Regions from separate parts of the Homo sapiens genome. Here region 2 is linked to region 1. The links are contacts of gene promoters, found by promoter capture Hi-C in blood cells and fetal thymus (Javierre and others, 2016). All regions are on one chromosome and are shown on one strand. Each heading gives the region's core, a stretch centred on a gene start or on the middle of the fragment in contact. The rest is flanking DNA. Distances are from core to core; before and after follow the strand shown.

What was found. The method cuts DNA at HindIII sites, captures the fragments that hold promoters and counts their contacts. A CHiCAGO score of 5 or more calls a contact.
Region 2: a fragment that was not itself captured here is called in contact with the fragment with the promoter of GNAL in region 1 in 2 of 17 cell types (M2 macrophages and M0 macrophages); the score reaches 7.3 in M2 macrophages.

The regions. Positions count from the first base shown.
Region 1 is chr18:11,685,906-11,691,398 of GRCh38, reverse strand. It overlaps GNAL (G protein subunit alpha L), which reads right to left and starts at 2,135. Exons shown (of 12, transcript NM_182978.4): 1 at 1,460-2,135. The coding sequence starts at 1,835. RefSeq lists an enhancer at 1,744-2,244 and a silencer at 2,183-2,332. The HindIII fragment of the contact is 5,620 bases long and covers 1,015-5,493 here.
Region 2 is chr18:12,254,917-12,260,409 of GRCh38, reverse strand. The region is part of intron 1 of CIDEA (cell death inducing DFFA like effector a); the gene reads right to left. LOC105371996 (a long non-coding RNA gene) reads right to left here and starts at 5,397. Exons shown (of 2, transcript XR_935158.3): 1 at 4,979-5,397; 2 at 2,954-4,831. RefSeq lists an enhancer at 1,651-2,151. The HindIII fragment of the contact is 816 bases long and covers 2,969-3,784 here.

The DNA of each region.
Region 1 (5,493 bases), core at 886-3,385:
GGGAGAAAATTTTCGCAACCTACTCATCTGACAAAGGGCTAATATCCAGAATGTACAATGAACTCAAACAAATTTACAAGAAAAAAACAAACAACCCCATCAAAAAGTGGGCAAAGGACATGAACAGACACTTCTCAAAAGAAGACATTTATGCAGCCAAAACACACATGAAAAAATGCTCACCATCACTGGCCATCAGAGAAATGCAAATCAAAACCACAATGAGATACCATCTCACACCAGTTAGAATGGCAATCATTAAAAAGTCAGAAAACAACAGGTGCTGGAGAGGATGTGGAGAAATAGGAACACTTTTACACTGTTGGTGGGACTGTAAACTAGTTCAATCATTGTGGAAGTCAGTGTGGCGATTCCTCAGGGATCTAGAACTAGAAATACCATTTGACCCAGCCATCCCATTACTGGGTATATACCCAAAGGACTATAAATCATGCTGCTATAAAGACACATGCACACGTACGTTTATTGCAGCACTATTCACATTAGCAAAGACTTGGAACCAACCCAAATGTCCAACAATGATAGACTGGATTAAGAAAATGTGGCACATATACACCATGGAATACTATGCAGCCATAAAAAATCATGAGTTCATGTCCTTTGTAGGGACATGGATGAAATTGGAAATCATCATTCTCAGTAAACTATCGGAAGAACAAAAAACCAAACACCGCATATTCTCACTCATAGGTGGGAATTGAACAATGAGAACACATGGACACAGGAAGGGGAACATCACACTCTGGGGACTGTTGTGGGGTGGGGGGAGGGGGGAGGGATAGCTTTAGGAGATATACCTAATGCTAAATGACGAGTTAATGGGTGCAGCACACCAGCATGGCACATGTATACATATGTAACTAACCTGCACATTGTGCACATGTACCCTAAAACTTAAAGTATAATAAAAAAAAAATGCAAGTGCAGCTCAAGTTCTTTCTCAAAAGGCAGCAGGCCACACCCACCCACAACACTGTGATTGGAATAAAAGCTTTGCGGTCAAGCTAAAAGGCCTTATAAATCTCCTTTCATCTGTGTTCTTAAAACAAACTGCCAGCCTCCTCGTGTAGCAGGAAGTGAGAGGCTAGGGTAGACATCCCCGGGGATTCGACCCTGTGGAAGGTGATCAATCGAGGGGGAGACTTCCCAGAGAGGCTCATTAATTAGAGAGAGCGAGCGGCAGTAAGCTCAAGGCACTGGGAGGGGCAGAATCAGCCCGTAGTGTCCTCCCGGCTAGGTCAGGGGAACCATTCCACCCACAGTTTAAACGCTCTGTAGCCCGTCCGCGCCCGCCGCCCGTCCGGGTCCAGTCCCGGGATTCAGGAGCCCCTCCCGCCGCCGCTCCCCGGTGCCCGCCACCGCTCCCCGGTGCCCGCCGCCCCCGCGGGCCCGGCGCGCTGTCCCCGGGGCGTCAGCCGACCTCGCGGCCGGGACCTACCGAGCAGCAGGAGCCGGTGCGTCTGCTGCAGGTCGCGCTTCTGGTCGCGCAGCATGCGGTCGATGCCCCGGCTCACTTTCCTCGCCTCCTTGACCGCCTCGCGCTCCTTGGCCGCCTCGCGCTCCTCGGCACTCAGCTGCTCGGTGCGCTGCCGCTTCTCCTTCGGCTTGTCTGCTTTGGGCCGAGCGCATGCCGGGCTCCCTTCGCCGCCCCGAGGGAGCAGGGTCCGGGCCGTGTCCCTTGCGGCCGCCCGGACTGGGGCCAGGGCCGGGGCCGGGGCGGGCTGCGCGTCCTCCACCGGCGGCTCCGAGGCCGCGCAGGGGTCGTCCCCTGGGCCCCCGAAAAGCAGCGGCCGCAGACTGTAGCACAGACCCATGTGGGCGCGGCACAGCGGGGGCGGCGCGCGGGACTAGGGCAGGCTGGGCGCCGAGGGCGGCCTGGTTCCCGCGCCCAGTTCAGGCCGGCGCCTCAGCGGAGGGGCGGGAGGGGGCTGCACCCGGACCCTGTTCGGCGCTGCCGGCCGCCAGCTGCGGGAAGGGGGTGCGGCAGGCCGGGGCCGAGGGCCACAGCCCCTCACTGCCCCAGAGGGTCATTTTGCATTTTCTGCTGTGTGCAAGGGGTGGCGGCCGCCTTGGCTGGAGATCACTTGCTAACGCCCAGAGCGGACCGAACCGACGGGCCTCCGCGAGCCCGGCCCCCGTTACCGTAAATGCCGCCGCCGGTCCAGCCCTCGCTACCGTAAATACAGCTGGCTTTCGTTACCGTAAATACTGCCGCCCAGGCTGGTCCCCGTTACCGTAAATACCGTCGCGCGGGCGAGTATTCTGTACCGTAAATAATGCCGTCTGAGCCCGGCGCGCAGCTGCGGACAGTGCCGCAGTGGCTGTGCACTCAGCACCTGGAGCCGCAGTTGCGGCAATCAGAAAACCAGGGTGGCTTTGATCTTGGGCGATAGTAACCGAGGACGGAAAGCTGGGTGTAGGAATAGAGACCGTGGCTTTAAAGCCTTCAATTTCCCCAATCCATTTCTTGCAGAGATCTCTGCACCTTGCCACTCCCTTTTCTGTTCATTATCTTACACCCACGTCTGCACACTCTTTATCCCTACTTTAATAGTACTATACCTTTGATCTCTACAAAATCTCCAATTCTGGAGTCTGGTCCACGACACCATTTTCAACAATCTCCACCCTTAAAAATGAAAACCGAGCACATATAATTGCCATGTACTATTTATATTTGCTGAAATGAGAATATGAGATTATACACTGTATTTTCTTAATCCACAATATAGGGCAGAGAGGAGCAGATGCGCCTTCAGACTGGGTGCGCTCTCTCCATGACGCTGAGAAACAAGCCTGCCAGAGGTGCTATGTCTTCGGTTATTTCCCGCTGAATGCATAGCATCTTATAGAGCTTCTGCAACAGGTGAACATTTCAATATAGCTTGTGAAAAACCTGCTGTAAGATGTGTTCCTTGGAAAATGACATGGAATATTATAGCTGATAGTTAAATACATCTCTCATTAACACACCAGATTAGGCTGCTTAATGAAACACAGCATGCAGCACAGTGTGCACTGTACCCGTTGGCACTAGATGTAAATACTACATTGGATTACATTTTTTCTTTTTGAAACAGTCTGGCTCTGTTGCCCAGGCTAGAGTGCAGTGGTGCAATCACGGCTCACTGCAACCTCCGCCTCCCCGGTTCCAGTGGTTCTACTGCCTCAGCCTCCCGAGTAGCTGGGACTGCAGGCACCCACCACCACTCCCAGCTAATTTTTCTTTTTTTCTTTTTTTTTTTGAATTTTTAGTAGAGACGGTTTCACCATGTTGGCCAGGCTGCTGGTCTCGAACTCCTGACCTCGAGGGATCCACCCACCTTGCCTCCCAAAGTGCTGGGATTACAGGCGTGAGCCAGCGCGCCGGGCCTGGATTACATTTTTAAATCAAGAAGTTGGAGATCCGGCATTCACATTTCTTTTGGGGGTCCTACTGATAACAAATGTGCATACATGTACTACTTTTGACCTAACATTGTTCCCCAAATTTTGCTAAAATTATGGCATACTTTTAGATATTTGAGCAAAAGAAAGGAGGACTATAGAAAATCTAACTTGGGAAAATAGAAAAAGTTACTAAATATCACTGTCATTTTCGCTATTCATTCACTCATCCATCTATCCATTTATCCATTCATCCATTTAATTAAGTGCCTACAGTACCCTAGGCATTCTTGTTGGTGCTGGGTGAGGCAAAGACAGGGGTCCTCATGGAATTTATAGACTAATGAGGTAGAAATATACTCAATCATAAAAACACAGGTAAATATATTAATTGTAAATTACGCTAATGCCATGAAGGGAAAAAACAGGATTCTCAGAGTATAAAGGAAGGTCCTGTTTAAATCGAGATGGGGAAGAGTAGTGTGTGAGGCAGGAAAGGCTTTTGAAGAAACTGAGACCCAAGAGACTTACAGCAATTGCTTTTCTATTATAACTTATTAGCTAAACTTTATCAATATCATACAAGAAGGATAATATTTTGTATACTAAAGTCAGCTGAAAATGAAAACAAATATTTTATGGATTTTTTTTTTTAAGACAGGATCTCTCTCTGTCACCCAGGCTGGAATGCAGTGGCATGATCATAGCTCACTGCAATATAGAACTCCTGGGCTCAAGTAATCCTCCTGCCTCAGCTTCCAGAATAGCCAGGATTACAGGTGTGCACCATCAGGCCTGGCTAATTTTTTTAATTTTTATTTTGAGTAAAGACGAGTTTTCACTATGTTGTCTAGGCTGATCTGAAACGCCTAGGCTCAAGGGATCCTCCCACCTTGGCCTCCCAAAGTGTTGGGATTATAGGCGTGAGCCACCACACCAGGCCTAGAGTGGATTTTTATACTTAAGTACGTCAGTTAAAATGTGGCCCCTCATTGAATAATAATTTCAAGACAGTGATAGCAGAACATTAAACCATGTGTGTGGCCCTTGTATGAATTTGCAGGTCACAGGCCCATGAAGCTGGCTGTACTTTCTGACTTGAAATGTCACAGAATACAATTTGGAGCTGGGAGAAAAACCAGACCATTAGCAGTGAAATCCTAGAAGGAAAGAAACTTCAGAGGTGTGACCCCCTCACATTTGTATATCAAATCTACTCAAATCTTTGGCAGATCACTGAACAACAATGGATGGGGGAGACCTCAGTGGCCTGACAAAATACTAGAAAAGCTAAAAGAACAAAGATTTCAGGTGCTTCTCACTTTAGGGGAGACAGAGTTTGGAGTCTGAGTCAAGCCAAGTGAACTTTTTATAATAAGAAAACAAAAATCATTCATTAGAGAAATAAAACAGAACTCCAAGTCTCTACAACATATCATTCATAATGTCCAGTGTCAAACAAAAAGCACACTAGACATGCACAGAAACAGGAAAATATGACCCACAAAATTTGATGTAAATTGATGCCTAGATGACTCAACCGTAACAATCAGCAGACAAGGATTTTAAAGCAGCTATTATAAATATGTTCACATATTTAAAAGAAGAGATACACATAATAAATGAGCAAATGGAGAATCTCAGCAAGAAATTGAAGCATAACAAGAAATAAATGGAAATACTGAAATTGAAAATTACTATAACTGAAGGAAAAATTCACTGGAGGTGCCTAACAGCAGACTGAAGACAGAATAAATTGAGGAACTACAAAATAGATCAATAGAAATGATCCTATCTGAAAAAAGATGGAAGAAAAGCAGTGGAAGAAAAACATACAGATCTTCAGAGACCTGTTGGTCAATATAATCTCGTCTAATATAAGTGCAGAGTCTTAGGAAGTGAGGAAAAAGAAAATTTTGGAAGAAATAGTGGCTTCAAATTTCTGATACTTGGTAAAAGACAATTTATAAATCCAAGAAACCCAATGAACCACAGGCAGGACCAATACATAGAAAATCAGACCTATGTACATATAGTAACATTGCTGAACTCCAAATATGAAGAGAAAATTATAAAAGCAGCTGA
Region 2 (5,493 bases), core at 2,127-4,626, 570 kb before region 1:
GTTAGAGACCAATCTGGGCAACATAGTGAGACCCTCATCTTTACAAAAAATAAATTGAAAAAAAAAATTAGTCAGGCGTGGTGGTGCATGCCTGTAGTCCTAGCTACTTGGGAGGCTGAGGCAAGGGGATTGCTCGAGCCCTAGATTGGGGCCACAGTGCACTCCAGCCTGGGCAAAAGAGTGACACTGTCTCTAAAACAAACAAACAAACAAACAAACAAACAAACAAACAAAAAACAGACCAAAAACCTGAGAGTAGAGTAACAAGCTGGCTCTCAAAAATCGCCTTGTTGAGTTCACGCTACCAGCTTGATCCCAGTTTCAGGCTTTCCATAATCGTGAGTGTTTGTGCCTTCTCCAGGTGCCTCACCAACAAAGTGTCGTTCTAGAACCAGACCAAGGTCATTGGCAAGAATTTGGTCTGGAGTATCCTTGGCCAGGATGACATCAGGGCCTCATAACTGCTGGCATCTAAGCACCATGGCCAGCAGTGTATTAGCAATTTCAGCTCTTGTTAATGTTAGTTCAATTTTTGTTTGTTTGTTTTTGGAGACAGAGTCTCGCTCTGTTGCCCAGGCTGGAGTGCAGTGATGCCATCTGGGCTCACTACAGCCTCTGCTTCTCGGGTTCAAGCAATTCTCCTGCCTCAGCCTCCTGAGTAGCTGGGGTTACAGGCGCCCGCTACCATGCCTGGCTAATTTTTGTATTTTTAGTAAAGAAAAGGTTTTCACCATGTTGTTCAGGCTTGTCTCCAACTCCTGACCTCGTGATCTGCCCACCTTGGCCTCCCTAAGTGCTGGGATTACAGGTGTGCACCACCATGCCCATTAATTCAATATTAATTAATATTAGCAAATTATCCTCACAACCTTGCAAGGAAACTATTGCCCCACTTCACGGATGAGAAAACTGAGGCTCAGAGTGGCTTCTCCAAGTGGGCCAGTCAATAAGGGAAAAAGATAAAACCTGATCCCAGGTCTGTCCAAAGCCAAGACTTTTTTTGGTTGTGGGAGCAGGTTGTTTTGTTATCCATCCTCTGAACTTCAAATCTCAAGCAATAAACATCTATCTAGAGGGCTGTGCGGAAAAGCTGCTCTATGGCTGAAAGCACAGCAGCGCTTCGAGTTCATGCCCTCAACGCCTTTCCCTTCTGGGTAGACAAAGTTGCTACACAGTTTGTTTTCAATGAGGCAAGCCCGAGGGAAATGTGCTGGGTTGGGGCTCCGGACCTGTCAGAATGACCCGCACACGTTTGCCAGGGACCCACCTAGCCAATCAGAGCCTCGCCCGGCCGGGCTGTGCACCAACGCGGCCCCAGGACTGGCACACAGCTTCTGAACTGTCACCTCGATTAAGAGAGTGACGCAGGGTTCTCAGTTACACAATGCCATAAACAACACTGCTGTGCTGACACCACGGGGAATTCGGGCACACTCTCACTCCTGGTGACCCGGGGGGAGAGGGCGGTGAGGACGGGCTGTGTTACATTTCACGTTCAGAACCCTGGCGTCGCCTCCACCTCATCATGGCAGCTGAAATTTAAACTAGCTGAAGTCCCCTCAAGGAGGGTGACAGAAAGGCCCAAGTGCCGCTGGATGCCAAACCCTCGTGTGTGAGAGCTAGCGCCTTGCCTTACCACTCCTTGGGATCCACCTTACAGTGAAACCTAGGCCTGGGGAAAGCAGGAGGCGAATCGTCAGGGCAGCAAAGGCTAGACCAGGGTCTGAATCCAGCTCCGGCTTCCACCCAGCGGTGCGGCACCTGGCCAGAAGACGCGGCTCCCACAAGAGAGAAGGGCCCGGCCTCAGCAGCGAGAAAGAGCCCCTCTTCGCCCCCAAGGCAGGAAGTCACCACAGTCTTGCACAAGGCCTCTAGCATCTGTCTCACGGAGTCTGGCGGTGCATCTCCTACTTTCCCACAGCGCCTGTCAGCACGCCATCTATTTACTGAGTGAAAGATGCTAGGCCAAAATCAGAGAAATGAGAGAACATGGTCCATGTCTTCCAATGCTAGGTCCAGCCCCAGTGGTCAAAGGCGCAGCCCTGGCCCTGCATCTCCTCATTGGACGAACATGCTCACGCCTTCGTAAGCACCTGTGCTCCGGTGACCTGGCCCAGATGATTAATTCCAGGTTCCTGCGGTCTTTACCTGTCTGACAAGATAAGAGCTGGCAACCATTTCTGGTTCTCCCTGCCTTCACCTGCCCTCAAGATTGCCATCGTCAGTGAAAAAACACCTATTGTTCTCACCTGTAGCATTTCCAAACCAAGAGCTGCGTCACTGCTGGAGGAAAGGCTGGTGGGGGCACAGAGGAAAGGAAATTTACACCCCACCTTCTTGTCAAGGAGGAGGTGAGTGATTTCTGGGTCAAATTATGTAAAATCAAGGCTGTCTCATATGTAACACAGAAAGGGGTTGAATGAGATGTTCTGCACGCCAGGCCTATGTACTCCAGGACCCTACAGGTACCGAATCTGCTGCTACATGAACAAGCCACCGTCTCCACCCAAGTCACCTCCAGCCCGCTGAGTAGAGTCATCTCTATCACTGGCCATCAGCACCGTGCCTAAAAGCAGGGCCACTGAGCGGCCCTAGGATCCTGCGTTTAGACACACCACACATGAGAACTGCCGCTCCTAATTCCTGTGAAAGTGGGGGCACACAACCACAGGAAACAGAAAGGGAAATAACCCTCTAACAGGGAAGATATAAGGAAACAGTTTGTTTAAGGAAGTAGGCTGTTTCACAGAAATCCAGAGAGGAAAAGTCAGACTTCATAGAACGCTGTGAAACGGCATGTCTCTCAGGAACAGGTGGGAAGGGAAGGTTTTGTATTCTGCCCCGAGGGAGGCAGGGCGCCGCCAACTTCCAAAAGTGTGTGAAATACACCAACAAGCCACAGACTGACAGTAGACCTGAACTCTTCTCCAGTAAAACAAACCTGAGCCGTACAGAGAATTAAAAAGCTTTCTTTACATGCCACCTATGGAGGAAAAGGGCCCAGTATTAAGGTCTTCCTCAAAGTGAAATATTTTGGTGTCATGGGTGAGGGGGCAGCAGTACAGGCTGTGTAAAATAGTGCCTGGGAATATTCAGGGGGCAGTGATGGCTGAGGGAACTCTGCATCTCATCATTAGGAAGAAAAAGAGGCAGCCACCGTGGGAGGAAGAAGCAGTACACAGGAATTGGACAGAAGCCAACCGAGCACTGTCACCAAGAGCAGCAGGGAATGCCAAGGAGGGAAGTGTGAGGTCAAGCACAGCCACGCAGAGAAGGAAGGGAGGGCTGGGAAAGTGCTCCACAGGCCTGGAGAAGAGTCCCTGAGCTGTAGAGACAGTGTCAGAGGATGGTGGGGTCAGTGGCAGGAAGCAGGGAAGCAAGTGCTGCCTTGACGAGACTTCCTGCTGCCCGGCTCCCCTAGGGCTCTTGGACGTGACATATGCAGGTGGGAGCACACCTACCCCCCAGATAAACTCGCCCCGACAAGGACTGCCTGGTTCATGGCTCAGTTCTTCGCAAGCTACCTAAAGGCTTGACATTATCAAGTGTTCAATACATGACCATGAAGTCTTTGAACACTTTGCAGTTTCGTTAAAATAAGAATTTAAATTCAAGAAGCAGAAAGCTGAGAGATTGACTTGTAGCATACTTAATTCCTTACTAATGTCACTAAGAAGACTGGTGAAATTTGTACTGAAATAGCAGCACAAAACCTAGAGTTCCTTGTTCAAGGAAAGGAAAAATGTGCTAGATAGCTATGAAAGCAGCCATTTCACACGAAGCTTATAACATGTACCAGCTTCATAACAACTTCAGCGTTTGGCAGGAATGTTATCACTGGCAGAACACAGGAACAGAGCAGACTTTGTCTGTGATAGTCAACCTGCATGTGGACCTCCTTGATGTCTGGAGCTTTGTTGTGAGACCTCAGGCTGCTTTCCTCAGGACCAAGGCCCCTAACGATTCTAGCTGACTAACAAATGCCTGGGTTAAGGTTTCACCACTGACTACAAGTACCTGATTTTTAAAAATTTTTGTGCACATTGATTCGGTTCTTTCCTTGGTAAAATGTAGTTACTAATAAAGACAGAATTATGACATCCTGGACCTGGTTTAAATTAAGGAACCCTGAGAGGAAGCCGAAGTCCAGCAAGAGCACAATTAGCAAATATGTTAGGACCTGGCCTCTGGCTCTTTTGCCCGGACAGGGTTTTAGAGAGGGGCAGGGAAGAAAAGGTGTTTTCCCTTCAACAAGAATTACAGATTGTTTTCTTCCAGTTTAGTTTGGTAACAGGTAGATTTCACAGAATGACAGTAGTCCAGCCTGGGAGCAGGTAGATTTCACAGAATGACAGTAGTTCAGCCTGGGAGCAGGTAGATTTCACAGAATGACAGTAGTTCAGCCTGGAAGCAGGTAGATTTCAAAGAACTGCAGCAACAGCTTGTCCATAACAGGTAGAGTCATTCACTCCTGGGATGAGCCAAGCTGGAAGGAATGTGTCCTAGGAGACTCAAGGTTTCCCAATGTTTCATTTGTCAACAGCTCATAAGCAAGTCACTTCCACTTCACACGACCTCACAGAGACCCCACACAGATGCATTTTGGATTTTGGTGAGCTGTTATAATAGTCAGAGGCAGGGACAGGCTCAGCCTGAATCCTGCTCAGAGGCCAACCAGGATTGGTTAGTGCGAGTCAGCCCACACCTCCTTCCCCCATGCTCCGGAGGAACAGTGGGTGTGTTGTGAATTCACTGGAAAAGTGGTTGGAAGGACGCATTCCAAACTGCTAAGACCTCCCCTCCTGGAAGTGGGACTGTGGTGTGGATGGTTCTGGAAGAACGCAAAAGATACAGGGCCCTGACCTTTAGGCCTAAGCGTGTTAATGACCATACACGAAGCAGGTGTTTCTCAGCGTCCCCCTGCCACCGCCCCGACTTGTACTGTGGGCTTATTTTTAAAGAGAAAGATGCTTCTAACCTGCAGTGTCTACAACAGCTCCCATTTAAGAACCCGGGATTGGAAGCTCATAGATTGCGTTTCGTAGCCGGACCGCTCCCTTTCACACATGTAGTCTCTCTGCCCGCCACACGTAGCACACACAGTGGGACCCGGCGCCGCTGAACGCCTGCACCTTCAAGCCCGCAAATGGTTCTCTATCCTTTTCCAGGTACTTGATCTTCAGAGAAACACGATCTCCCTCTTAGACCTTACTTTACAGTTGCTGCCACGCAATGACTTAGGATTTTACCAAGAATTGGCTTGGGTCTGTTGGGATATGAATATTAACCCAAGCAGGAAAATAGCCAATGCTGCCTGTTCGACCACGAGCGGGTGCGAAGCGCAGGGAAGACTCCTCAGGGTCCACCCGCCCCTTGTCCCCCCTGCTCCCCAGGCAGCGTCTCCGCCCTTGGACCCGGAGGCAAGGAGGAGCGCTTCTCCCAGCACCACCAACCTGGAGGGCTCCGCCGGACGGTTGGGGCCTCCCCTCGGAG